2 separate regions of the Homo sapiens genome follow, and region 1 is linked to region 2. The links are contacts of gene promoters, found by promoter capture Hi-C in blood cells and fetal thymus (Javierre and others, 2016). All regions are on one chromosome and are shown on one strand. Each heading gives the region's core, a stretch centred on a gene start or on the middle of the fragment in contact. The rest is flanking DNA. Distances are from core to core; before and after follow the strand shown. Region 1 holds the start of RPS29 (ribosomal protein S29). Region 2 holds the start of TRAPPC6B (trafficking protein particle complex subunit 6B).

What was found. Contacts are between HindIII fragments. The CHiCAGO score rates a contact against its expected background, and 5 or more counts as called.
Region 1: the fragment with the promoter of RPS29 here is called in contact with the fragment with the promoter of TRAPPC6B in region 2 in 1 of 17 cell types (total B cells); the score reaches 6.7 in total B cells.

What each region holds. Positions count from the first base shown.
Region 1 is chr14:49,584,511-49,587,675 of GRCh38, reverse strand. It overlaps RPS29 (ribosomal protein S29), which reads left to right and starts at 1,296. Exons shown (of 3, transcript NM_001032.5): 1 at 1,296-1,391; 2 at 1,627-1,726. The coding sequence starts at 1,330. It also overlaps RN7SL1. RefSeq lists enhancers at 736-1,245, 1,118-1,617, 2,216-2,265. The HindIII fragment of the contact is 6,928 bases long and covers 260-3,165 here.
Region 2 is chr14:39,168,736-39,172,115 of GRCh38, reverse strand. TRAPPC6B (trafficking protein particle complex subunit 6B) reads left to right here and starts at 1,783. Exons shown (of 6, transcript NM_001079537.2): 1 at 1,783-2,101. The coding sequence starts at 2,021. RefSeq lists enhancers at 556-1,145, 1,927-1,976, 1,736-2,325. The HindIII fragment of the contact is 6,900 bases long and covers 1-2,002 here.

The sequences.
Region 1 (3,165 bases), core at 47-2,546, about 10 Mb before region 2:
GAGATAATCCTGTTTCCCACAGATTAGAAAATTTTGAGGGCAAGGAGCAAGTTATATCTAGTTTACAAATCTCTGACTCCCCTCCTTCCTTAATCATATAATACAATGCCTAACTTAATGATTGGGTAGGGGGACCCCACTAGAACCCTGACATAACATACCTTAAAGAAGTGTTGTATTTCAATTTATAAAAGTTTATATGTAAAAGTTTCTGGAATTGTTGCACCCTGTGCTACATTTTATAAATCTAGTTAAAGCTTTGATTTCAGAGCAGTTTTATCTGGAGGCATTATAAATGACCATATGGAATGTAGGTATCTTTCAGCAGAAATTCGTTTATTGACATTGGTTTTTTGCATTTTTGCATTTGCTTTTCATTACTTGTTTTGTCACCAAATTATCTGGTCAAAGCAACATACACTGCACATTACTTGTTTATTACTTTACATTCAGCCAATTACATTTAAGAATCAAATACACTAAATGCCAAAGAATCTCATTTTTTTTTGGAATGGTGTAGGTGTATTTCTTGGAGGAGTGTGTCAAAAAAATAAATTTGAAAACGTACTCTCTTTAACAAAATAAAAGCAAACCCTACCGTTGACTCGTGATCATTACAGCTGATTTTAAGTTGTTTTGTAAATTTATTCCAGTAGGTGTCACTGGTGAGTCGAGGAAAAACTCCTTTCCCAAGTGTAACGTTTTAATTAAAAGAAAGTAAAAGGTTTAATCAATAAAAAAGACTATGAGAATATTCATCTCTTGAGAGTCCAAAATTAACGTATTTATTGTTCAAAAGAGACGGGGTCTCGCTATGTTGCCCAGGCTGGAGTGCAGTGGCTATTCACAGGCGCGATCCCACTACTGATCAGCACGGGAGTTTTGACCTGCTCCGTTTCCGACCTGGGCCGGTTCACCCCTCCTTAGGCAACCTGGTGGTCCCCCGCTCCCGGGAGGTCACCATATTGATGCCGAACTTAGTGCGGACACCCGATCGGCATAGCGCACTACAGCCCAGAACTCCTGGACTCAAGCGATCCTCCAGCCTCAGCCTCCCGAGTAGCTGGGACTACAGGCACGCGCCACCGCGCCCGGCGGTCGGATACCGGCGCAGAATAGCACTAGAAGCTGTGGTATGGTGACGTCATCAACTGGGCCAGCCCACAACGCCTCTAAGATTTCATTTTACTCACCCAGCGAAACAACCTGACCACACTGCGCACGCGTTTCCTTTGAGCACTGCATTCTGGGTAAACTGTCTCAAAAATTTGAAGAGCGCATGCGTGGGCCAGCTTCTTCCTTTTACCTCGTTGCACTGCTGAGAGCAAGATGGGTCACCAGCAGCTGTACTGGAGCCACCCGCGAAAATTCGGCCAGGGTTCTCGCTCTTGGTGAGAAATAGTTTGTGATTTTGGGGAAGCGTTGCCGTGGAGCGCTAGGCTGCTTAAAATCTCAAGTAGAGGAGGCCACGGGCGGCACGAGGGAGCACGCCGACTGGGAGTCGCTGGTGCCGCCATTACAGGCCTGTACTGTGGCTTGGGAGTCCCGGGATGCGGGTAGTAGCCGTCTGAGTGCGGAGTCTTGTAATTTCTATGACCTGCAAAACCGCTGTCTCTTTTCTTACAGTCGTGTCTGTTCAAACCGGCACGGTCTGATCCGGAAATATGGCCTCAATATGTGCCGCCAGTGTTTCCGTCAGTACGCGAAGGATATCGGTTTCATTAAGGTAGGCGTCTGCAGGCGTACTCCATGTTGTTTGGGCAGAGAAGGTTGTGGGGGTTATTTTTTCCGCGAAAGACAAACGGACAGATCTTCCCTGGAGTGGTAATTCTGAGCATTCGACCAAGAGCTTTTCCTCTTTTTTTAGTTGGTAGCTGGTGACAGTGTTGATGGTTTGGGCAATCAAATTAATAGAATGGAGAAGGTGAAGGACTTAGTCTTTCCTACTCCCTTTTTTACCTAGATAGCTTAGCCAGTTTTAGGTGCCGTGTATTGTGTTTGGTGAAATTCACTTTAGAGAAGCCACTAAAATTGTTTTACATTTGTTTCATTTATCAATCTTGTAAGTACCTATTCTCTTTTTTTTTTTTTTAGAGATAGGGTCTCCCTCTGTCGCCCAGGTTGAAGTGCAGTGGCGTTGTTACGGCTCACTGCAGCCTCGAACTCCTCCTGGTCTCAGGCGATCCTCTTGCCTTGGCGTCCCGAGTAGCTGGGACTAAAGGCTCTTGCCACCACGCGCGGCTGTACCTAGATATTTTCTAACCAAATATATGTATTAACCGCTGACCCCAAGTTTTTTTTTTTTTTTTTTTGAGTCGGAGTCGCACTCACCCAACCTGGAGTGCGATGGCGTGATCTCCGCTCAGTGCAACCTCCGCCTCCCCGGTTCAAGCGATTCTCCTGCCTCAGCCTCCTGAATAGCTGGGATTACAGGCGCCTGCCACCATGTCCGGCTAATTTTTTTATTTTTAGTAGAGACGGGGTTTTACCATGTTGGTCAGGCTGGTCTCGAACTGCTGACCTCGTGATCCGCCTGCTTCGGCCTCCCAAAGTGCTGAGATTACAGGCGTGAGCCACCGCGCCCGGCCAACCCAAAATGTTTGAAAGCGTCATACACTGGAATGAACTTAAAGTTTGGGGCCGGAAAGACATTGTTAAGATTCAGCAAACAATGGTCTGCCATTTAGTGCTTCTATCTCTTGATCATCTTAGTCAAGCTAGTGTTTATATGAAACTTTTGACTGTGAAACTTTTGGCTTCTGAAAATCTTTTAAATAGTAGTTTGGGTTTTTTTTTTTAAGGTGAAAACGAATTTATTATTGGCTCTTTGAGATAAAAATCACCAGCTTTCTGATCAATTATTTTGTATTGGATAGTACTGTTCTATAATGATGTAAATTTTTTTTTTTGTTTTGAAATTGGGTCTCCCTCTGTTTCCCAGGCTGGAGTGCAGTGGCGTGATCTCAGCTCACTAGCCTCCCCCTCCCGGATTCAAGCGATTCTCCTGTCTCAGCCTCCCTAGTACCTGGGATTACAGGCGTCTGCCACCACGCCCGGCCTATTTTTATTATTTTGTGGAGATGGGATTTCACCATGTTGGCCAAGCTGGTCTTGAGGTCCTGACCTCAGGAGATGGGCCTGCCTTGACCCCTCAGAGTGCTGGGA
Region 2 (3,380 bases), core at 534-3,033:
GAGAAGTCAACTTTGATAAATTGGCCATTTACTTACTTTTTGACTTGTGTGGTGGACTTGGACTCCTTTTTCTTGATGGTAGTGATGAGGGCAAGAATGTCATCTAGACATAAAGGACCTGATTTCGCATAACTGAAAATTTAGTGCTGGAAAAATTAAGATTACCATGGCAAAATACTCTTCAAAATTACACAATTTAGTGTTTTCAAAGGCTTAAGTGGAGCTTTTATGCTGGATTTACGTGATGAATGGAATAAACTGATTCAAACATTAGAAGGGACATGCTTAAAAAAAAAACCTACCACAATTAAAATTTTGGAACATGATCTTAAATTCCTGTGAAAGGGCATGAAGAGTTTGTGTGTGTGTTTCGTTTTTTGAGACGAAGTCTTGCTCTGTCGCCCAGGCTGGAGTGCAGTGGCACAATTTCTGCTCGCTGCAACCTCTGCCTCCCAGGTTCAAGTGATTCTCCTGCCTCAGCCCCCCGAGTAGCTGGGATTACAGGCACCTGTCACCACGCCCGGCTAATTTTTGTATTTTTAGTGGAGACGGGTTTTCACCATGTTGGCCAGGCTGCTCTCAAAACTCATGACCTCGTGATCCCCCCCACCCCCCGTGCCTCGGCCTCCCAAAGTGCTGGATTTTACAGGCATGAGCCACCTTGCGGTATGTTAATTTGGGGGAAAACAACAGGGACAATTGGGGAAAAATTTTGTTTTGTGAATTACCAATGGAAGAACTAATCACAGGCTAAGCAACATGCTTACGGTTGAATTTGCCAAATTTAAGATGTACATACTATGATGTAGCATGTGTATTTATTTGCACATGCAGTGGGACAATTCCTACAGTTGTCTCACACTGCTGTAGATTATTAGCAACTCCATCCTGCAGTGACATCGCTTTTCTGAATTCTATAGCACTTTTCACCTAATCCTCTGATTAGTCTGTATTTTCCGGTTCAAGTGTATCTTGTTTTTCGTTTGCTCCACTTCCCTTGTCCCTTGCACCCCACTAACAGGAAAATTCCTGGTGGTCAAAATGGCTCTAATTCTTTTTGTATACCCGGGCTTAATTCAATAGGAATTGGGATAACTTTTCAATATTTAAAAAATTTGCACTGTGAAAACGTATATTTTAAACTCTTTCTACAACTTTTCATATTTGAAGAACATATGGCAGGAAGTGGATGCTTTTGATGAAGCCAAAAGAATTTTTTTAACTTCTATTGCTAATTAACAAGGAGGTGGCCGCGGGAGCTCTTTTTTTTTTTTTTTTTTTGAGACGGAGTTTCACTCTTGTTGCCCAGGCTGGAGTGCAGTGGCGCGATCTCAGCTCACCGCAACCTCCGCCTCCCGAGTTCAAGCGATTCTCCTGCCTCAGACTCCCGAGTAGCTGGGATTACAGGCATGCACCACCAGGCCCCGCTAATTTTGTACTTATAGTAGAGACGGGGTTTCTCAGGCTGGTTCGAACTTCCGACCTCATGTGATCCACCCGCCTCCGCCACCCAAAGTGCTGGGATTACAGGCGTGAGCCACCGCGCCCGGGCCAGGCGGGAGCTTTAGGTCTTATTTTATCTTGCTCTGCCCCCGACATCGTGGTGAGAGGGGAACCTTCCTCATATCTGGGCGCTGGCCTCTCCGGGCTTGGGAGAGAGGAACTCAGTGATCATAGAGCTGGCCGAATGCCGGGGTAGAGGGGACCGGAAGTTGTTTTTTTCGCCCCCGCCCAGCGGCCGGATCGCATCTCAGCTGGTTGGCTTTGGTTAGAGCTCCCGTCAGACTTTAGTTCGGCCCTAGGATTTGGTAGCCCCGAAGTGTGGGCTCTCTCCAGTACCAGACTCATTTCAGTACCAGCCTTTGGGAAGTCGTGTGAATACCTCGGTCTCTTAGCCACAGGGATAGAATGGCGGCCTGACGGAGCCGCGGCGCCGGCGAAGTCGCTGAGGCGCGAGCTGGAACCCCCAGACCAGCTCAAACGGGAGCCAAAACTCGAAGCTTGGAAGAATTAGCAGGAAATGGCGGATGAGGCGTTGTTTTTGCTTCTCCATAACGAGATGGTGTCTGGAGTGTACAAGTCCGCGGAGCAGGGGGAGGTGGTGAGTGCTGCCACACAACCTTGAGGTCCTTTTGCGGTGACACACCTTGTTTCCCCTCAGTGCTTTCCTTCAACCCCTGTCCCATCGCCACCCGACGCCTCCCGAGGTGTACACAAAATGGTCCACCTCCAGGTGTCCTAAACCCTAGAACCTGTCAGTTGTCTCCTTTGAACCGTCATCTTTCATCGTTTTCTCTTTCGTATCTTCTTCTATTTGATTCTCTTTTGTCTATTCCCGTACGTTTGTCTTGCACGCCACAGATTTTGGTACTTTTAGTGTTGTCCCTGCCATTATTTACGAGAGGGTTAACTGCAGAGCCTACTTAGTTTTGCTGGCACTTCCAGCACTTGAGCCATGCACTGGACAGACCTGTGCCAACCTGAGAAGCCTGTCCCTCCTTCCTCATTCCTAATGCTCAGTACAACTCCACACAACTTGAGACCTGAAGCCTAATGAAGGTTGAGTTTGCAAAGGAAAGTTTGCAGGCGTTAGGATAATTAGGGAACATAATTTAAATTAATTATTTCAGAAAGTATTTATTTAGTGCCCTTATGTCAGAGCGATTTCTAGGTGCCAGGGATATAGTAGTGAATGAAACAATGGCCCCATCCTTGTAGAGATTTTTTTTTAATCTAATTTAATCCGAAATGTGATAGTATGTAGCGGTTACTTCTAATATGTGGGAGTCCTTATTCAATCATTGTGGGCCTGTCACTGCTGACACTGCTAGATAAATTAAATAAAATAATACTCCTGCCTCACAGTATTTAGGGAATAGTGATTTAATGAATAGTTAACACTGAGTATTGGCTGGTAGAATCATGGAGTTGTAACGGATTTTAGAAATACTCCAAAGTCATGCTCAAGTCAGGAGCCCTTTCTTTAATGCTATTGATAAAAAATGAGTGGAGAGTGGGGATAGGAAATGTATCCTAGGCAAAGATAAAGTGGTAGAGGTATGAAAGAGTGGTGGATTTAAATACACTTAAGCATTTCTTTGGACTAGACTGAATAGAGAGTGAGAAGAATTGAGAGGTGAAGTTAGAAAGCTTTGTGTAATTAAAGAATTCGGATCTTTTCGAGGGAATATTTTTAAGGAAGGGAATGATGTGGACCATTTGCATTTTAGAAAAGTAATCCAGTGTTTGGGCTAGAGAGGGAAGATCCTTGTAGGGGGAAAATCCTTTATTACGGGAGTCACTGCAGGAGGAGATGAAGATCTGGATTAAGACAGGGATAGTGAGAAAAGGAGATAACAGATTTGAAAGTTAGAAAGTGG